Regions from separate parts of the Homo sapiens genome. Here all the other regions are linked to region 1. The links are contacts of gene promoters, found by promoter capture Hi-C in blood cells and fetal thymus (Javierre and others, 2016). All regions are on one chromosome and are shown on one strand. Each heading gives the region's core, a stretch centred on a gene start or on the middle of the fragment in contact. The rest is flanking DNA. Distances are from core to core; before and after follow the strand shown. Region 1 holds the start of RLIG1 (RNA 5'-phosphate and 3'-OH ligase 1). Region 2 overlaps LOC105369890 (a long non-coding RNA gene). Region 3 overlaps POC1B-AS1 (POC1B antisense RNA 1). Region 4 overlaps POC1B-DUSP6 (POC1B-DUSP6 readthrough). Region 5 overlaps POC1B-DUSP6 (POC1B-DUSP6 readthrough). Region 6 overlaps POC1B-DUSP6 (POC1B-DUSP6 readthrough). Region 7 has its middle 13 kb from the start of DUSP6.

Region 1 (2,578 bases), core at 44-2,543:
TATGCTAAAAAGTTTCTGGTTCCAACAGCACACAGCCAGCATCAGGTGTTTTCTTTTTTGATAAATGCAGGCGGGGTGTGATGTGGGAGAACATTTTGTGTTTTCCTGTGAGAAAAAGATAGTAGAAAAGAAAGTAAACACTTTGAAATGGCAAATCTCTTTCTTCCTCCCTCCCCTCTGAATCCAGTAATCAAAAAACTGTGAACTTTTTTTAAATTTTATTTTTTTTCACTGTCAGTATTCAATATAACTGTGAACTTTTTAAAGGAAGATGTTTTATTCTTTGAGAACCCCCTTACTAGTTAGATACCTCTAAGTGAGATATAGTTGTTTAATTTTTCCAAGGGCTAAGTCAGTAACATGCTGGACAGTTGAGTACATGCAGATAAGACAAAGAAATGAGACCTGGGCCTAGTCCAAGCCCATAAAGGATGGCAGTAAAGTCAAAATTCCCCTACAACTTCAGGCTAGGAACTACTACATTCAATGAGATGGAAAGGCTACTATTCCTAAATATTTAGTATTTATTTTATTTAGTCATTGTCCATCTTATCACTTACCCTCAAAATATTCTTTTGAGCAGTAAGTTAAGGCTGTTTTTAGCTCGCAGTTGATTGACTACCATTACTCAAGCCATTTGGGCTGTTGGAGCTCACCTTTAATTAAACAAGATTCTTATGAAAAACTTGAGAATGAAATCTGGTTGTAGGTATTCCTGTACTTTTGGATTAGTCTAAGGCTGAAATTTCGCACTCACTCCGAAAAGAACATCAGAATCATTTCGACCATGCTATGCTGCACAATAAGGAGTAGTTCAAACGACAACTTTTTTTGATCCCAGGTGTTTTATTATAGGGTTTTCTGATAGTCTTACCGGAAAGGAAGTTTTCATTCTGCTTGGGAATCTGGGGATGTCTCTAGCCATTTCTAAACTTCTACAGTGCTTCCCCCACGAACTAAAGATAACAGGCAAGCAGTTTCCATTGGAACTGTGTTAAATCGACATCTGAAATGTTCATTGCTTATAATTTGATCTTATTTAATTTCCCAAAAAATCATTAGTTACTAGGTATTGCTAAGTACCCACGTTCGGGAAACGCATCTTTTTTTTTTTTTTTTCACGGTTATTAAAACCGAGGGTGGGGGGCGGAGGACGCACGTGGGAACCCACCAGGCGCCTCAGCTTCTGCACTACAACTCCCAGAAGGCGCCGCGGCCAGGAAGCCGCTTCTGGACGGGCGTTCCCGCCCCTCGCTGGGCTTGGTAGTTGGGGCGCAGCCGCGGTGGCTGGGCGCGGAGTGTGCGTGGCCTGAGCCGTGCGGGTGACTGCTTCAGGGCTTCTCCGCGACTGGACCGGGCGCCGCTCGAAAGCACGCCCTCCATTCGCACTGCTTGTTGGGCTCATCATGAAGCGCTTGGGCTCCGTGCAGCGGAAAATGCCGTGTGTGTTTGTGACGGAGGTGAAAGAGGAGCCTTCCTCCAAAAGGGAGCATCAGGTACGGAGGAGCGCCGGGCAGGCTTGGCGGCCCGCGTGGGCTCCTCCCCGCGGCGCTGGCTCAGTGCGAACCCGGCGAGGGCGGCTGGGCGCTTTAGAACTGCCCTGCAGGCCAGGAACCTCTGTAGGTTTCCCTGGGGAGGTCTGGGGTGGGAGTTCCGTACGCCCTGAGCTCCAGGTTCTTGTACTTTTCTTAGTTGTGAGGGAGGGAATTTGCGAAAGAATTTTCCTTATCAGGAGATTCAAACTTGTCCTCGCAAGGAAATGGATAACTCACATCCACAGCATGTCCCTTCCTTTTCAGGTCAGCACCTTTTGGGGAAACCCCCTAATCAGGTAATTGCCACAGTCCAAGCTTTACTACTTTTCAAGAGTGCAGTAAGAAAGGGTGGATATTAGAAGACTTGCTTTACCTGTTCTGTCCGAACCAGTGGCGGTGTTGACAGTAGCCTAATTAGGTCACTGAAGTTCACACCTCATATTACCAGTAATTACTTAATTTATTCTAACTTTGGTGTTCTCAAGGTTTTCTGTTGCAGCAACGTGTTTTCCATAGTGTGCCCTCGGTAAATGCTAGTGAGTAACCTATATTTGGGTAATTTTTTCATATTGTACTATAAAACGTTGTAGTCTTTGATCAGTAGAATCCCCAGTGATTAGTTGGGTGCTTCCCAACTTTGCTGATTTCAAACAAAACCAACATGTCCATTGGAAATCCACCTCACTTGAGTTTCATCATTGGCACTGGCTTTCTCGTCTTCTGGACTAAAACTTGTTTAAGGCAAAGATTGCCCTGTTATCTTTAGTCCCAGCTTCTAGGACCTGGCACGTGGTAGGCACTGGATAAATATTTGTTGAATTAAAGAATGAACCCTGGAATCATTTCATGCCAGTTTTCCATTCACCTTGATGCTTTTTACCTTATAGCATCTGATCTTTTCCTGCTTTCTAGTGCTGTCACAGCTGTTACAGTTAATATTTCATGTCCTGCTCATTGCACCACCTAACTGGTCTTACTTGCCACTCAGACTGATCATCACCATGTTCTTTCCTCGTCAGAATACCACAGTTATTACTCAATGT
Region 2 (2,578 bases), core at 39-2,538, 1.9 Mb after region 1:
CTTCCAAACTCAGTTTATCAGCCATCCCTGATAAGCCACTTAGGTCTCTCAGTCAAATGGTCCAGTGGAATCCTGTGGAGCTCTTAGAACGTTTGTAATTATGCAATTAATGATCATAATACTTAAAGTTTAATGTTCATGTTCTCTGCCAGTTTTTAGAGTGAGACAAGCACAATGCCTTGTTCACTGGCCCATCTCTAGAGCCTGGCATGGTAGCTGGCACACAGTGAAAGCTCAGTAGACACCTTTGGCTGAGATATAAAAAGACCAAGGCTTTCTGACTTTTGCTCAATTGTACACAAGTATTGAAACCTCAGCCAGGGGCTTTTCACTAAACACTCTGCCTGAGATGTTGTTTTGTCTTAAGAATTCAGAGTACATAGACATTCTATCCTCTTGGGTATTAATCACATTTCAGTAATCTAAAAAAGAGAAATAGTATTTTCCCTCTACTTTAAAGATGCAAAAAAAGAGTTTAGTGTCTTGCCTGAAGTCACACATGCTCTGTAATAATAAATAGGTTGATGATGATAACAATGGTAATGACTTACAAAAACATGGCAGGACTGGACTCCTAGCTTCCAGCTGCACGCTCTTTAGACAAAGATTTCCCAAACTTTTCCTTACCATATTTGACTGATTTAAAAAATATATATGTAAAATTCTACCATAATTGTTTTTACATTTGTCAATTTTTTTTCTTTTTTTGCCCTCTCTTTGAGGGCAACAACTTTATCTTTTCTCTATTTTCTCATGTTGGATTCTTTCACTTACATGCCAATTCAGTAAATGTGTGCTAAATGAATCCTGTTGCCAACATCCTTATGACTGCATGTGCTGGTTAGTATCTTTCTTCTTTTACTTGTGTCAGAATAGTGTAGGTTATCCTGTGATAACAACTCTAAAATTTCAGGTTATTTCTCATTCATGGTGTCAGGGAGAGCTTTGCTTATCACTGTCACATACGGAGTAAGGCTGAAGGAGACTCTGTCATTTTATGACACTGCCATCTAATGACGTCAGGCTTCAGGGTTCACCCCAGCAGGGGATGAGAAAGAGCTGGCAAGTCAAACACAAGCCATAGAAGCCTTAGTCCAGAGTGTCATTCACATGCCTTTGGGCAAAATGAGTCACATGGCAGCATCTAACTTCAAGGGAACATGGAAATGTAATCTCCTTTCTAACCAAAAGTAAATAATTAGAAATTGGTGGACATTAACAATGCCTATCATACAACCATCATCTATGGAGTCAGGCTTTGTGAAAGAAAGAAGGTAGATGCAGATAGGAAGCCAAAGGGGGAAAAAAAAGAGAGAAGATCTGGGAGGGGGAAAGATGGATAGGGAAAGGAGAGAGGAATAGCTCAACTGCTATTCTGACAAGATTAGCTCCATTTCCAAAGGAGAACTAAGCCCTTAAATAAACCAGTCTTGTCTTACCTGTGCCTCCGGATCATGCACATGACTCATTAGTGAGTTGATTATATTTTACCATTGTTGTTCATATTTTGTCGATGTTCTTATACCATTGTGGGTCATGGTTCATTGGGACAGACAATTTTTAAGGTTTCCTGGATTGTCTTTCATGCATGAGGTATAGAACTATAAAGATTGCTGCCTTCAACTTGAGGTAGGTGTGACAAAGAAATAAAACTAAGAAGTAGAGGTGTGTTTGCCATTGGAATGCGTCATTACTGTCTTCCTCATCTTTCTTTCACTAAGTAAAGTTTCTAACTATACTCCTTCCTTGCTGGGGTTGAATACCACAGAGGAAAGAGTTGTGAATATCTTATTTATCATTGTATTCTCAGAGTCTACAAGTACCAGGCAAATAGGTAGTGCTCAGTAGATAACTGCTCATTGGTGGCTTGAAAGGGGCAGCTTAGCAGGCCCAGTTATAGCATTTTTTTTTTTTTTTTTTTTTTTTTTTTTGAGACGGAGTCTCGCTCTGTTGCCCAGGCTGGAGTGCAGTGGCGGGATCTCGGGTCATTGCAAGCTCCACCTCCCGGGTTCACGCCATTCTCCTGCCTCAGCCTCCCAAGTAGCTGGGACTACAGGCGCCCGCCACTACGCCCGGCTAATTTTTTGTATTTTTAGTAGAGACGGGGTTTCACCGTTTTTAGCCGGGATGGTCTCGATCTCCTGACCTCGTGATCCGCCCGCCTCGGCCTCCCAAAGTGCTGGGATTACAGGCGTGAGCCACCGCGCCCGGCCGTATAGCATTTGTAATTAAAGGTTTATTTCCCAAAGTGGGCTCTTTGGGGAAGGGAATTGCAGAACTACTGAAGTTACCTTTCATCTGATGAGTTGTGCTGTAGGCAAGTTAAATAGGGAGGCTGTTTTTAATCTTTGAGTTGGGCCTTGGCAAGATTTGCTCAGTTGTTTTCTTTTCAGTTGGTAGTTTGGAAGTCCCAGCAGTATAGCTTATGGCTGACAGTCAATTAGTTGTGAATTTATTTTTAATCTTCAGCAAATGTCCCTTGTGAACAAACAAAGGGTGCATGATAATTACCATCAACTACTGTCTCTTCAACTCCCCTGTGTGCTTGGCAAAAGTACTGTGCAAAACAGACAAAATA
Region 3 (2,578 bases), core at 47-2,546, 1.5 Mb after region 1:
ACAATGATGACTAAGATATTTCCCCTACCTTCAAGAACTCAGCAATCTAGGGTTGGTGAGTCTCATGCTTTAGCATTTGTAATGTTGATTTGGGGGCTCCATTTCCAGAGATGCTGAATCAACATATACAAGGTGGGATCCAGGGCCCTTCTGATGTAACAAGCTCCATAGATGATTACTATGGGAGTCTCAGCTGTCTATGTTGAGAAACACTGCATTAGTCTAGGAGATGATATGTTAAGAGTGTTGATATCAGCAACTTGTCAGCAAACTGTTGCAGGACTCTTAGTTTTGCTACATATTACCAGTTTAGGCTTGATTTATTTTAAAAGCCTGCCATGTTTAAAACTAATGCTGGATACTGGTGGGAATGTAAAATGATGTAGCTCTGTGAAAAAGTTTGTCAGTTCCTAAAAAGTTAAACATACAATTACCTTATAATCCAGCAATTTCACTGCTAGGTATATCCCATAAGTATTGAAAGCAGAGACTCCAACAGATGCCAGTGTTCAAAGCAAGCATTATTTACAATAGCCAAAAAGTGGATACAATCCTAGTATCCAACAGATGAATGGATAAACAAAATGTATGTGATATATACATATAAGGAAATATTATCCTGCCATAAAAAGAAATGAAATTGTGATACAAGCTATAACATGGATGAACCTTGAAAACATTTTGCTAAGTGAATAAGCCAAACACAAATGAGCATATATTGTATGATTCCATTCATATGAGGTACCTAGAATAGGTGAATTCATAAGGACAGAAAGTAGAATAGAGGTTACTAGGGCTGGGGGTAAGGGAGACTGGGGAGTTACTGTTTAATGGGTGCAGAGTTTCTGTTTGGGATGATGAAGTTCTGGAAATAGATAGTGGTGATGTTTGCACAACATTGTGAATGTACTTAATGCCAGTGAATTGTACACCTAAAAAATGGGTAAAATGGTAAATTTCATTACAGGTATTTCACCCCAATAATAAAATAATAATGCCAGAAGCTGAAGAGTAATCAGGACCTCAGGATTACTCATAGGTATGTTACGTCTAATATTGGGCACAGGAGAAGCAGAAAAGGGAAGAAGTTGGAGATTTAGAAACTAGCTCACAAGAAGAAAAAATATAGATTTTTATTTAAGTGTTTTAGTAAAAGTTTAGCTTTTACTTTTTTTCTCAATTATCAAGAAACACATGTTTTAAATTTAAAAGATGGGAGGGAAACTACATATTAATCCTATTACCTAAAGTTGATCTTAAAAAATTTGTCACCTACTGATATGGTTTGGATTTGTGTCCCCACCCAACTGTCATGTAGAATTGTAATCCCCAGTGTTGGAGGAGGGGGCTGGTGGGAGGTGATTGGATCATGGGGGTGGATTTCTCCCTTGCTGTTCTGAGTGAGTTATCACGAGATCTGGTTGTTTAAAAGTGTGTAGCACTTCCCCCTTTGCTCTCTTCCTCCTGCTCCAGCCATGGAGCAGCCATGCTCTCTTCCCCTTTGCCTTCCACCATGTTTGTAAGTTTCCTGTGGCCTCCCCAGCCATACTTCCTGTACAGCCTGCAGAACCATGAGCCAATTAAACCCGCTTTTTTTGTAAATTACCCAGTCGCAGGTAGTTCTTCATAGCAATGTGAGAACGGACTAATATACCTACCTATGTTTTCACTACATGCCAGGACTTTTCTAAGTACCTTACAAATTTTGACATTTAGTGATCATAACGATCTTATTAGAGATGTGCTATTATTACCATTTCCGTTTTATAGATGAGTAAATTGATATGCAAAGACATTAAGTTACTTGCCCAAGGCACACTGCTAACTAGGAAGTGGCAGAGTTGAGATTTTTAGACACTCGCAGTCTGCCTCCAGAATCCACTCTCTCTTTTTTTTTTTTTTTTTTGAGACGGAGTCTCACTCTGTCGCCCAGACTGGAATGCAGTGGCGCGATCTCGGCTCACTGCAAGCTGCTCCGCCTCCCAGGTTCACGCCATTCCCCTGCCTCAGCCTCCCGAGCAGCTGGGACTACAGGCGCCCGCCACCAAGCCCGGCTAATTTTTTTTGTATTTTTTTTTTAATAGAGACTGGTTTTCACCGTGTTAGCCAGGATGGTCTCAATATCCTAACCTCGTGATCCGCCTGTCTCGGCCTCCCAAAGTGCTGGGATTACAGGTGTGAGCCACCTCACCTGGCCCAGAATCCACTCTCTTAATCACTGTCATGACTTTTGTGTGATTGCAAGTGTTATGTAAATGTATAAAACATTGCATTCTTGCCAAGGTTTATAATAATAAGTTTTACAAAATGAAAGTAATATCTCCTTTATTTTCATTCCACTGTCCTCATTTATTACTCTAAACTGCCCTTCCCATTGTTCTTTTCCATAGTATTTGATTTTGTTCTTTTCGGCTTTTCTTCACCTTTGCAAATAGCAAAAGCTCAGAGGTAGACAATTGGAAATGTGGTCAAAGTTGGGGAAGTTTTTTCTAACCTCAAGCCTAATTCCACTTGCTACAATGATTATTTAGACCTCTCTGGACTGCAACCTAATCATTTATGTGGGTGGGAGCCACAA
Region 4 (2,578 bases), core at 58-2,557, 1.5 Mb after region 1:
ACAGGTGCGTGACACCACGCCTGGCTAACTTTGTATTTTTAGTAGAGACAGGGTTTCACCATGTTGGCCAGGCTGGTTTCAAATTCCTGACCTCAGGTGATCTGCCTGCCTTGGCCTCCCAAAGTGCTGTGATTACAGGCGTGAGCCACTGTGCCCAGCCCTATTTCTATTATTATTACATACTCACTATAATGTAGAATCAATGGAAGCCCTGAGCTTGTTTTTCTGCAACTAGATGGTCCCATCTGGGTTGAAGGGAGACAGTGACAGATCATCAGGCATGAGATTCTCATATGGAGTGTGCAACCTAGATCCCTCGCATGCACAGTTCACAATAGGGTTTGTGCTCCTATGAGAATCTAATGCCGCCGCTGATCCGACAAGAGGCAGAGCTCTGGCCTGGTTCCTAACAGGCCATGGACTGGTACTGGTCAGTGGCCCAGGGGTTGGGAATCTCTGCTCTGAAGTATTTATGGGGGGAAATGATATGTAGGATTTTTTCTAAAAATACTCCAGGGGAAAAAGTGAGGGGAGGTGTAGATGAAACAAGATGGGCAGAATCCTGACAACTGTTGAAGCTGATTGACGGGAATATGAGGCAGGGGAGTGATGCTATTCATTCTATTTTCATGTATGCTTGAAAATTTACATACTTTAAAGCTTAAAAACATTTTTAAAAATCATGGCTCAATAATTACTTAAAATAGATGGGCTATTAGTTAGGGTTTGAAAAGTCTCGTTACAGAGATTTGTTATAACGCATATGACCTTACACAAATTCAACGATTTAAACTTTTGTCAGAAATTTTCTTTAACAAGAAAATTCTGGACCCCGATAATGAGTGATACAAATCAAATCAAAGGCACAGGGTTTTCAATAGGGATCCAAGGGCCCTTGAAGGATCCATGAACGGGCGTTAGGAAGTTAATAAACTGAATTTTTGGTTATACATACTGATGTGTATCATTCTGGGGAGACAGTCTAAAGCTTACCTCAGATCTACAAAGGGATGGATAGCTACCACTACTCCCTCAAAAAAACTTAGACATATTAAGCATATTTCCATGGTAGGAAATAGTTTTCAAAAAGAAGACATAATTTTGAGGAAAAAAATTGTATGAATTAGTTTGACTTTACCACAAGGGCAGCATGCCTTTTATGTGACTGAGAATAACAGTGCAGGCAGCAGTGCATGAGCAGCAGCCAGGGTCAGCTTTCTTTCACATTTCCAAATCCAAAGGATATCAAGTGTTTCTTTGTTTCTCTTACTTATCAGGAATCCAGAGTCTCACGGTTCTGTCTCGTGAGGCAGACGCCAATAAGTTTCCATGTGGAGAAAACTGCACGCTGGTTACAACATCCTTGTGACCCACATATCTGTAAGCTCTAGCATGTGGCTTGAAATTCCATAGCATGAGAAAGGTATCCCAAGAAGCAGTAGCTATCAAGAAATAGAAGAACAAAACCACTGTTTGTTAAAATGCAAACATAGGTGTGTCTCATTACAATGAGCAGCATATCTAATAACAAGGCATCCAGGTAATAGAGCGGCTGGAGGTTGTAAGGCTGCCCAGGTAATAGCCAAATTACTTTTTAAAGGTACTCAAAACTACATCACTAATATGCAAGCTTGGCTGTGTCCTATGTAAGCACACAGCAGGATGACTGGCCCCCGTATTCAATTAGCGCTCAGTAACTTTATTTACTAGAAGGCCGCAGCACAGTGTAACAGAGGGTACACGGGACTAAGAGTCAGTTTTGTTTCTAACTCTGGGTAATGGAAAGCTAGTTAACCTCTGTGTCATGATGTCATGAGGACTGAATGTTTTTCCTGAGAGGGATGGATGAGATAATTTTTCAAACTGTTTATGTGGAAATAATTTCACACTTACAGAAAAGTTACAAGAATAGTACAAATAACACTAATATGCCTTTTACCCAAATCTACTTGTTAATGTTTTGCTTCATTTGGTTTGTAATTTGCTCTGTACTTGTTTCTCCTTGCGCATGAACACACGTAAACCCACACACACAAACACATACGTATTTTTTTGTTCCTGAACCATTTAGGAGTAAGTTATGCAACTCACAGCATCTTTATTCCTAAATACTTCAGTGTGTTTTTCCTAAGATTTAAGATAGTCTCTTAACACACCCATAGCACAGTTAGCAGCTTCATGAAGCTGATTATTAAAGATGCAATATTTTAATATAGCAACTATATTTTATCAACTGATCCAATAATACTTTTATAGCTGGATAAGATGATTTTATTAGTCTCTTTCTGCTCTATAATTTAATGGCATTTGATGATTAATAAAAGAATTAAAAGAATCGTGTGTGTCAGACAATAGTTTAAGGATTTACAAAAAGGAAAAATGCAATCAATGGTGGAAATAACTGACTTGACAAAGAATGAACAAATAAACAAATGAAAGGTAGATCTAACTCTTGCCTAAAAAACAAATTTTATTATATGCATGTAGCCCTAGAATGGCTCCAATAATAGGAAGTAGGTCAATGAGAATCACTAAATCTGGATTGTAGAGTGCTTAGAAAAAAATGTAATGTTATAAA
Region 5 (2,578 bases), core at 1-2,500, 1.4 Mb after region 1:
ATCTGGCTAATTTATGTATTTTTAGTAGAGATGGGGTTTCGCCATGTTGGCTAGGCTGGTCTTGAACTCCTGGCCTCAAGTGATCCACCCGCCTCAGCCTCCCAAAGTGTTAGGATTACAGGCGTTAAACACCACGCCTGGCCCCACATCCACATTTATACCTCAGTGCTCCACGCTGGCTTCCCTAATAGAATATAAGCAAGAAGAGGCAACTCACATCTGTCTCACTCAATGCTCTATCCCCAGACACAGTGCCTGGCACTGAGTAGGTCCTTAGTAAATGTTTAGGAAATTAAAAAAAAAAGTTTTAAGGGAATTTAAACTAACTTAATATTATATATAGCCAATGTAAGCTGAGAAAAATCTTTGCAATTCGTTGCACAACAATGTGAATATACCTAATGCCACAGAACTGTATACATAAAAATGGTTAAAATGGTAAATTTTGTTATATATATTTTACCACAATTTCACAAAATCTTTTCAATTCAGATGGTCAAAAGATCACTTTGTAATCCTATCAACAACTGAAAATTATAGGCAGATATTTACTCCCAAAAAATCAATGCTGGAAAAGCAACAGACTCGGAAAAGTTCTCTACTACATTAACTTCTACTTATTTTTTATTAAGAACACTATAAAGAAATGTAAGTTATCCCACAATACGTGCATTGTTTTTAAAAACAAAGGGCTATACTAATTTTAACTTTTAGAAAAATTCTTTTGTAAGTAAAAAGATATTTCTCACCTACATACATGTATTTCAAATGATGTTTTCTTCATCATATGTTTAAAAGTTGAGAAATACAGAAAATTTTAAAAGTCCAGATCTTGTCACTCAAACACAATTACACTTAATATCTTGTGTATAATAGATACCTCATCTTTTGTTCATGCATAGGTCTTTTATAATATAACCACTGCATTCCATTTCCCCATGTAAACATATTTTCATGCCATAACTTGCATATAGACTCCCTTTTTACTGGTTACATCATAATCTAACTATATTTAACTAGGTTTTTTATTTGAAATAAAAATTGGAAAAATCGGTTATTTCTAATTTCTCATCATTTCAAATTATACTGAAAGCACCACCTTTGAATACAAAGCTTTTTCATGTGATGGCAAAAAAGTATTTATTTTGGACACATTTTTGGTTGTAGAATCACTGCAACAAAGATGCCTGACATATTTTGCAAATAGACTTATAAAAAGACTATACTATTTACATTTTAAAAGCATGAATGTATTTCCAAATATATGGTATACCTTATTTATTTAAATTAACCTTTGTTAAATTAGATTATAACAAAGGTTAGTCTAGAGAAACTACCTATTCACCTCCTCTTACACTAATGGGCACCATCTCTGTGCGACACTGAATAAGCTTGGGCTCCAAGAACAAACTCATAGAAAGTACTGGGCACCGAGATAGACACAGAATTTTAATTACTTAAGTCCATGGCATACATTTAAAATTCAAATACTAAAGGCAGAAACAATTGCTCTACTGATCCTCTACATTCATTTAAGTACACTATCCATGCACTGGGAGGAAAAGCAGTACCATTTGGATTATTTTAAATATCTAGTTGTTTAATTCATCTAAATTTTTTTGGTAAAATATTCAACTTTATATTTTTCCAAATATAAATCTAGTTATCTTAACTACATATTAAATAGACCATATATTTCCCCACTGATTGGAAATGCCACATTTATTGTAAGTTCTCATATACACATGTATCTGCTTCTGGGCTTTATATGACCTCTTTTCTTAATCCTGTACCATTATCACCATATTTTAATTACTATGGTTTTATATTATGTTTTGAAAACTGGTTGGACAAGTTTCTTCTTTCGTTTTTTTTTTTTGAGACAAGGTCTCACTCCATTAGTCAGGCTGAAGTGCAGTGGCACCGTCTCAACTTACCGCAGCATAGGCCTCCCAGGCTCAGGTGATCCTCCCACCTTAACCTCCAAAGTAGCTGGGACTACAGGTGCATGCCACCATGCCCAGATAATTTTTGTATTTTTTGTAGAGATGGGGTTTTGCCAGGCTGCCCAGGCTGGTCTCAAACTCCTGGACTCAAGCAATCCACTCACTTCTTGCAAGAGACTGATAAGTTATAAAGCTAATTTATAATTCTTTTTTTTTTTTTTATAGAGTCTCACTCTGCTGCCAGTCTGGAGTACGGTGGCATGATCTCGGCTCACTGCAACCTCTGCCTCCAAGGTTCACACGATTCTTGTGTCTCAGCCTCCCGAGTAGCTGGGAATACATGTGTGCGCCACCATGCCTGGCTAATTTTTGTATTTTTTTTTTTTTTTTTTTTTTTTGAGACGGAGTCTCACTGTCGCCCAGGCTGGAGTGCAGTGGCAAGATCTCGGCTCACTGCAGGCTCCGCCCCCTGGGGTTCACGCCATTCTCTTGCCTCAGCCTCCTGAGTAGCTGGGACTACAGGCGCCCGCCACCTCACCCGGCTAATTTTTTGTATTTTTAGTAGAGATGGAGTTTCACCATGTTAGCCAGGATGGTCTCGATCTCCTGACCTTGTGATCTGCCCGCCTTGG
Region 6 (2,578 bases), core at 24-2,523, 1.4 Mb after region 1:
CCTGATGTAATTAACAGTATTTAACTGCGTAAGTTGCTGCCACATAAGTTAAATAGAGCTGGAAGTTCTTACTAAGTAACATTTATAGTCCTCTCCATAAAGAAAATATGCTGAGGGGGTGATATGGTTAAATTCTTTGCTAGCTAACTCTCAGGAATACTAACAGTACCTTGTAGCTCCTGATATTTATTAAAGGGAAGAATATGTTAATAATTAGAGCTGCCTTGAAATGAAGTGGGCTGCCTATGAGAGGCCAAGTTCTCCATGGCTGAACAAGGGTATATAACTGGGACTAATGAATGAGGTAAAGGTTAGCCTGTATGACCTCAAAGGTACCATCCCACATCCCCCATTGAGGTTCTCTGTGTCCATGATACTGAGGAGTCCACGAACATAAAACCTCTACTAATAAATTCCATAAGCCTTCACTAGACTACAAGCTTCTAAAGAGCAAGGAGTATGCCCATCTTGTTCACTGCTGCATACTCTAAAGCTAGTACAACGTCCAGCACACAGATACTTTAATATCTGTTAACAGGATAAAATGTAATTTTGTTTATATTGAAGCATTACATCAAAGTGGTTAAAAACACAGAATGGAACCAGAGTGCCTGGGTTGAAATTCTACTGCTGCCACTTACTAACTTTAAGATTTAACTAACATAGACCTCAATTTCTCATGGGATAATAGTGGTACTTATTTCACCGAGATTTTAGGAATATTAACTTAATTTGTATAAAACACTTAGAACAGTCTTGTATAACTGTTAGACTTTATCATCATGTAATGAACATTTACTGAGGCCTGAAACAGTATAAACATATACCCCAGTTAGAAGTAGAATACAAAATGGATAGACAAGTGGTCATTTTAAAAAATCATAAATGGTGATGTTTTCAACCTTATTAGAAGATTGAGATAAAAACCCAATCTCAGACTTAAAAACTTAAATTGATCACTTGTACTTTTCAACAATGAATCATGGTCAGACTATCACAAAATATTATTATATAAATATTTGGTTAAGGTAAAGGACATTTTCCTTCCTGCTAAATATCATACAGAATTTCATATGCAATTTATATGTTAAGGTAATCTAAAATGGCCATAAAAAACTGAAAGCCATCAGAACATTATTTTATTAAAAAAATCTTTTTAACCAATTATAATCCCTGCTTACAATATTCTGCAATTCTCCTAGAATAACTATTTTGATGCTTTACTGTCATTAAGAGCTATCGCCATCGCTTAGAGTGGCTCTACTGTCTTCTCATCAAAATGTGTAAGAAAGAAGGGAACTGCTGCTCCGGAGAAAAATATCACACACACACACACACTGAAGGAAAGTCTGGTTTTGTCTAGGGGCAGGACAATGCAATCCAACTCATGACAGTCTGAAGAAGATAAAGTCAGCATGAACTAGTGATGTGCTATAGCACAACATGGGTAGGGTCAAGATACCTTGTGTAAAAACTGGGCTTCTTTCCCATCAAAAAAAAGAGAGAGAGGTACTGTTCTCATGTTTTTAATTAAGATGGAGTGCCTAGGCCAGGAGTACTACGAAGGATCTGTAGTTAGATAAGTAGGAAGAACCCGGGAGGGGGCTATTTCACATAGAGAGAATTTGATATTTCATGCCTTCTTTCATGTGGCCTCCTTCTCTCATTTATTTTAAAAGTAATATGGCTATCACCCCCTCTATCCATGTAGGAATTAGTAATTTATACATTTAGTCAGCTGGTACCCAAGATCTAAGACTCTGCAGGATTCCCCACCTTCAAACAAGTGAAGCGCTTAAGGCTAGCAAAGGGGTGGCTTTTGCAAAAGGCCAAACTATTTTACTCAGCAGATTGAGATTATGCAATTCAGATGAGTCTCATAGAAAACATAATACAAATCATAAAAATGTTATCTCGTTTCAAACTCAGAAATAAAACACTCATGGTCACTGCAAACAGAGAAAGAAAAATTCATCAGTTCACTTAGATACCATTTATTCTACATATTTTAATAAGATGTTTATTTTCCTTAAATCCTAATACTGACCTCAAAAAAAGATTTCTTAGTTTTAAAATATTTCCCAAGTAACTGCATGTAAATTTGCCTAAAGCTTTGAAAAAAACTTAATCTACTGAATTTAGTATTTCAAAGTAAAGTTTACTAATCATAAATGAACACAGCACAACTTCTATTCTGACTATTCCATTCTGTGTGAAAGTTTTGAACTAAGTAGTCTTTGGCTTAGTGAGGGATCCATATTTATTAATTTGAAGTAGAGTCTTTAAAACACAATTTGGTACTTAACAATTATTTATTCATAATACTAAAGTTGTTCCCTGTCTAGAAAATTTCATAACCTTGACTTTTTTATAAGAGTTTTTTTTTTTTTTTTTTTTTTGAGACGGAGTCTTGCCCTGTTGCCCAGGCTGGAGTGCACTGACATGATCTCGGCTCACTACAACCTCCGCCTCCCAGGTTCAAGCGATTCTACTGCCTCAGCCTCCTGAGTAGCTGGGATTATAGGCACGCGCCACCACACCCAGCAAATTTTTGTATTTTTAGTAGAGACGGGATTTC
Region 7 (2,578 bases), core at 39-2,538, 1.3 Mb after region 1:
GAGCATTTTACGTGCATTTTCTCATTTAATCCGGATAACAACAGTGTGAGGTAAATACCATTATTATTTCCATTTTTTAACAGATGGGAAACTTACTAAGATTAAGCACCTGGCCTAAGGTTACACAGGTAGCTAGTGATGAAGCTTATATTTGAACCTGCAAGAGTCTAAATCCAGAGACTATGTTCTTTATGCTACTTGTTACTTTATATCTTATAATGATTTATGTTCAAGGCTGTTTTCATTTCAAGGCTGAAAGGTCAAATTTGTGTCTAATTTATCTCTTTATGGCACTCAGAACATTCCCTGAATATAATAGGTTGTCTATGCCTTGTTGAATTAATAAATGAATAGTGGCATACATAATTCCATTCCCCAGAGCCTCATCAATTACAATTTATTTGCATTTTTCTAGGTGCTTTACGTCAATTTTCTCATTGAATCCTCCCAACTCCATCAGCTAAGTGTTATTATTATTCTCATTGCACAGGTGAAGAAACCAAGGCTCAGAGAGACTTGTCTGAAATTGAGGATCTACACAGACTAGGCAAGGTCACATGGCTAACAAGTGACAGATCTGGGTTCACATCTGGGAAAACTGAACCCACTGACTGAGCTTGTAACCATCACTCCTCAGCTGAAAATAGGATCAGAACAGAGATAGCCTCATCAAACCATGGGCATAATTTATGGTCCACTCAGCCAGCATTTCTCATTTTAAAAGTTTTAAACCTGAATTGCTTCTGTCAAAGAGTTAGAAGGGACTCAAAAATGTGAAACCTTGGATAGAGATCAGTGGCAATTCCAAAATATCCTTATAGGAAGGGTTTGGGAATAACAATCTCATTGAAATTGGGGGAGGGGGATAAGGAATTTTGAAATTATCGTAAAGCTATATTTTAATATGAAGCTCACTGTTTTGTCAATCAGATTCTATTATTGTGGGCTGCTGATGGATATTATAAGGGCATATTAAAGAAGTAATCACTATTCTGCTGGAGGATATATTAAAAATGTGTATTTCATGAATCTGTATGTATGTATGCCTATCATTTTTCAAAAGTGGTTTAAACATCAATAAAGTGAAAATTCAAATCAATAGATGACACAGAGATTTTTTGAGAATTCAAACATCATCATGACAATAATAAACGTCAGGAAGGTCTTGCAGAGATGTGTGAGTAGCCAGTAAATAGCCGTGCTCAGTGCAGTTGGTTGCACAGGAATAGCTGCAGGAAAAGAGAACGCACCTCGTGCTTAGAAGACCAAGGACTCCGAGTGCAGACGTGATCCAGGAAAAGGATGATGGCATCATTGCCGACCATTCCCTGAAGGGGTCGGTCCAATGTATTGTGGCAGTCACAAAAGCAAGCATCATCAGGAAGGATGTCAAAAACAAAATAGAAAGCACAATCTTATGAGCGTTTGCACACACGCACACACATATACACAGAGAGACACCAGAATTCATTGGCTCCAGAAATACTGAGTATAGTTCCAGCCATCAAACCTGAAAAATGGCATAATGAAACTGGAACTTACTTAAAGGAGGTCCCTTAAAATGATTAGGGTTTGAAAAGAAACCAAAGAGACTTTAAAACACTTCAGCCTAGAAAGACAAAACATAAGAGTTGGCGGATCAGGTTGATAAAATCACAAAGGGTACTGATTAAGTGAACACAGATTCTGACACCAAATCCCAGCAAAGCAGACCTAGAAGCCCTGGTAAAATTTTTAAAAAAGTGCTTTTAGGACTATTTATATTTTCAAGTGCTACTTTATAGGGCAAGTAACAAACTAGAAAAAAAATCATAACTCTAAAAGTCTATAGTTGTGAGCCCATGATAGTTATGGTGCAGTTATACCTACACTATATGCTCAGCCTTTTGATGTCCATCTTTGGAAAGACATCTAGCAAGCTCCCTTTAATGCTGTTGTTCTTTGAATGCCCTAAGAGAGGAGATGCTAGATTAAATGTTGGTTTACTACACATGGCAGATCTGGTAATTCCCAAACAGGACAATCAAAAGAATCACCTGAGGGCCATTTATAAAAAACCAGATTCCCAGGCTTCATTTCCAAAAATTCTGAATCAGTAAGTCCGGGGCTTAGCAACTCTAAGAGAAAATCCTTTCCATAGATGAATCCAAGGTATAAGTTGATTGGCTGAAATGGAATCATGTCCCACCCCTGAAACAATCACTGAAACCAGAAAATGAGGCCTTTTTTGGCCTGGGCTGGGTTATATACCCTTCCCTATGATGGGAATGGAGTTTTCTCCAGAAAAGAAGAAGGTAGATGACTAACATTCAGTGCCCCCTACTTCCTGAGAAACAGAACCTCAGTTATATTGGTACAAAAGTAATAGCAGTTTTTGCAATGATTGTAATGGCAAAAAACACAATTACTTTTGCACCAAACTAATATTAGGGGAAGCTTGTGTCCAACTGAAAGTCTGTATCCCCAGCCTCTCTAGCTATGGCCATGTGGCTAATTCCAGCCATTAAGAACATGGAGTACAAGTCTGCTGTAGGATTTCCAGCAGGCATCTTTAAGAGAATTGACTCAAGGAAGTAAA

What was found. The method cuts DNA at HindIII sites, captures the fragments that hold promoters and counts their contacts. A CHiCAGO score of 5 or more calls a contact.
Region 2: a fragment that was not itself captured here is called in contact with the fragment with the promoter of RLIG1 in region 1 in 4 of 17 cell types (activated CD4 T cells, naive CD8 T cells, non-activated CD4 T cells and 1 more); the score reaches 6.2 in activated CD4 T cells.
Region 3: a fragment that was not itself captured here is called in contact with the fragment with the promoter of RLIG1 in region 1 in 13 of 17 cell types (non-activated CD4 T cells, naive CD4 T cells, activated CD4 T cells and 10 more); the score reaches 26.5 in non-activated CD4 T cells.
Region 4: a contact is called between a fragment that was not itself captured here and the fragment with the promoter of RLIG1 in region 1, in 3 of 17 cell types (activated CD4 T cells, naive CD8 T cells and M0 macrophages). The highest score is 6.6, in activated CD4 T cells.
Region 5: a fragment that was not itself captured here is called in contact with the fragment with the promoter of RLIG1 in region 1 in 1 of 17 cell types (non-activated CD4 T cells); the score reaches 6.8 in non-activated CD4 T cells.
Region 6: a contact is called between a fragment that was not itself captured here and the fragment with the promoter of RLIG1 in region 1, in 5 of 17 cell types (non-activated CD4 T cells, fetal thymus, naive CD4 T cells and 2 more). The highest score is 11.0, in non-activated CD4 T cells.
Region 7: a fragment that was not itself captured here is called in contact with the fragment with the promoter of RLIG1 in region 1 in 1 of 17 cell types (non-activated CD4 T cells); the score reaches 5.7 in non-activated CD4 T cells.

Annotation. Positions count from the first base shown.
Region 1 is chr12:88,034,243-88,036,820 of GRCh38, forward strand. RLIG1 (RNA 5'-phosphate and 3'-OH ligase 1) reads left to right here and starts at 1,294. Exons shown (of 7, transcript NM_001009894.3): 1 at 1,294-1,496. The coding sequence starts at 1,407. It overlaps LOC107984542 (a long non-coding RNA gene), which reads right to left and starts at 1,254. Exons shown (of 3, transcript XR_007063395.1): 1 at 1,172-1,254; 2 at 1-105. The HindIII fragment of the contact is 2,128 bases long and covers 1-1,848 here.
Region 2 is chr12:89,950,382-89,952,959 of GRCh38, forward strand. All of the region lies in intron 6 of LOC105369890 (a long non-coding RNA gene), which reads left to right. Among named protein-coding and RNA genes, the nearest start is that of LINC02399, 4.0 kb to the left of the region's middle. The HindIII fragment of the contact is 3,706 bases long and covers 1-2,578 here.
Region 3 is chr12:89,527,144-89,529,721 of GRCh38, forward strand. The region is part of intron 1 of POC1B-AS1 (POC1B antisense RNA 1); the gene reads left to right. Among named protein-coding and RNA genes, the nearest start is that of POC1B-GALNT4, 2.2 kb to the left of the region's middle. The HindIII fragment of the contact is 4,188 bases long and covers 1-2,578 here.
Region 4 is chr12:89,495,901-89,498,478 of GRCh38, forward strand. It overlaps POC1B-DUSP6 (POC1B-DUSP6 readthrough), which reads right to left. Exons shown (of 11, transcript NR_189589.1): 3 at 1,271-1,442. It overlaps POC1B (POC1 centriolar protein B), which reads right to left. Exons shown (of 12, transcript NM_172240.3): 3 at 1,271-1,442. Among named protein-coding and RNA genes, the nearest start is that of GALNT4, 28 kb to the right of the region's middle. The HindIII fragment of the contact is 642 bases long and covers 987-1,628 here.
Region 5 is chr12:89,478,276-89,480,853 of GRCh38, forward strand. All of the region lies in intron 4 of POC1B-DUSP6 (POC1B-DUSP6 readthrough), which reads right to left. All of the region lies in intron 4 of POC1B (POC1 centriolar protein B), which reads right to left. Among named protein-coding and RNA genes, the nearest start is that of GALNT4, 45 kb to the right of the region's middle. The HindIII fragment of the contact is 278 bases long and covers 1,112-1,389 here.
Region 6 is chr12:89,462,107-89,464,684 of GRCh38, forward strand. The region is part of intron 9 of POC1B-DUSP6 (POC1B-DUSP6 readthrough); the gene reads right to left. The region is part of intron 9 of POC1B (POC1 centriolar protein B); the gene reads right to left. Among named protein-coding and RNA genes, the nearest start is that of GALNT4, 61 kb to the right of the region's middle. The HindIII fragment of the contact is 1,671 bases long and covers 439-2,109 here.
Region 7 is chr12:89,338,395-89,340,972 of GRCh38, forward strand. No RefSeq gene overlaps it. Among named protein-coding and RNA genes, the nearest start is that of DUSP6, 13 kb to the right of the region's middle. The HindIII fragment of the contact is 2,292 bases long and covers 143-2,434 here.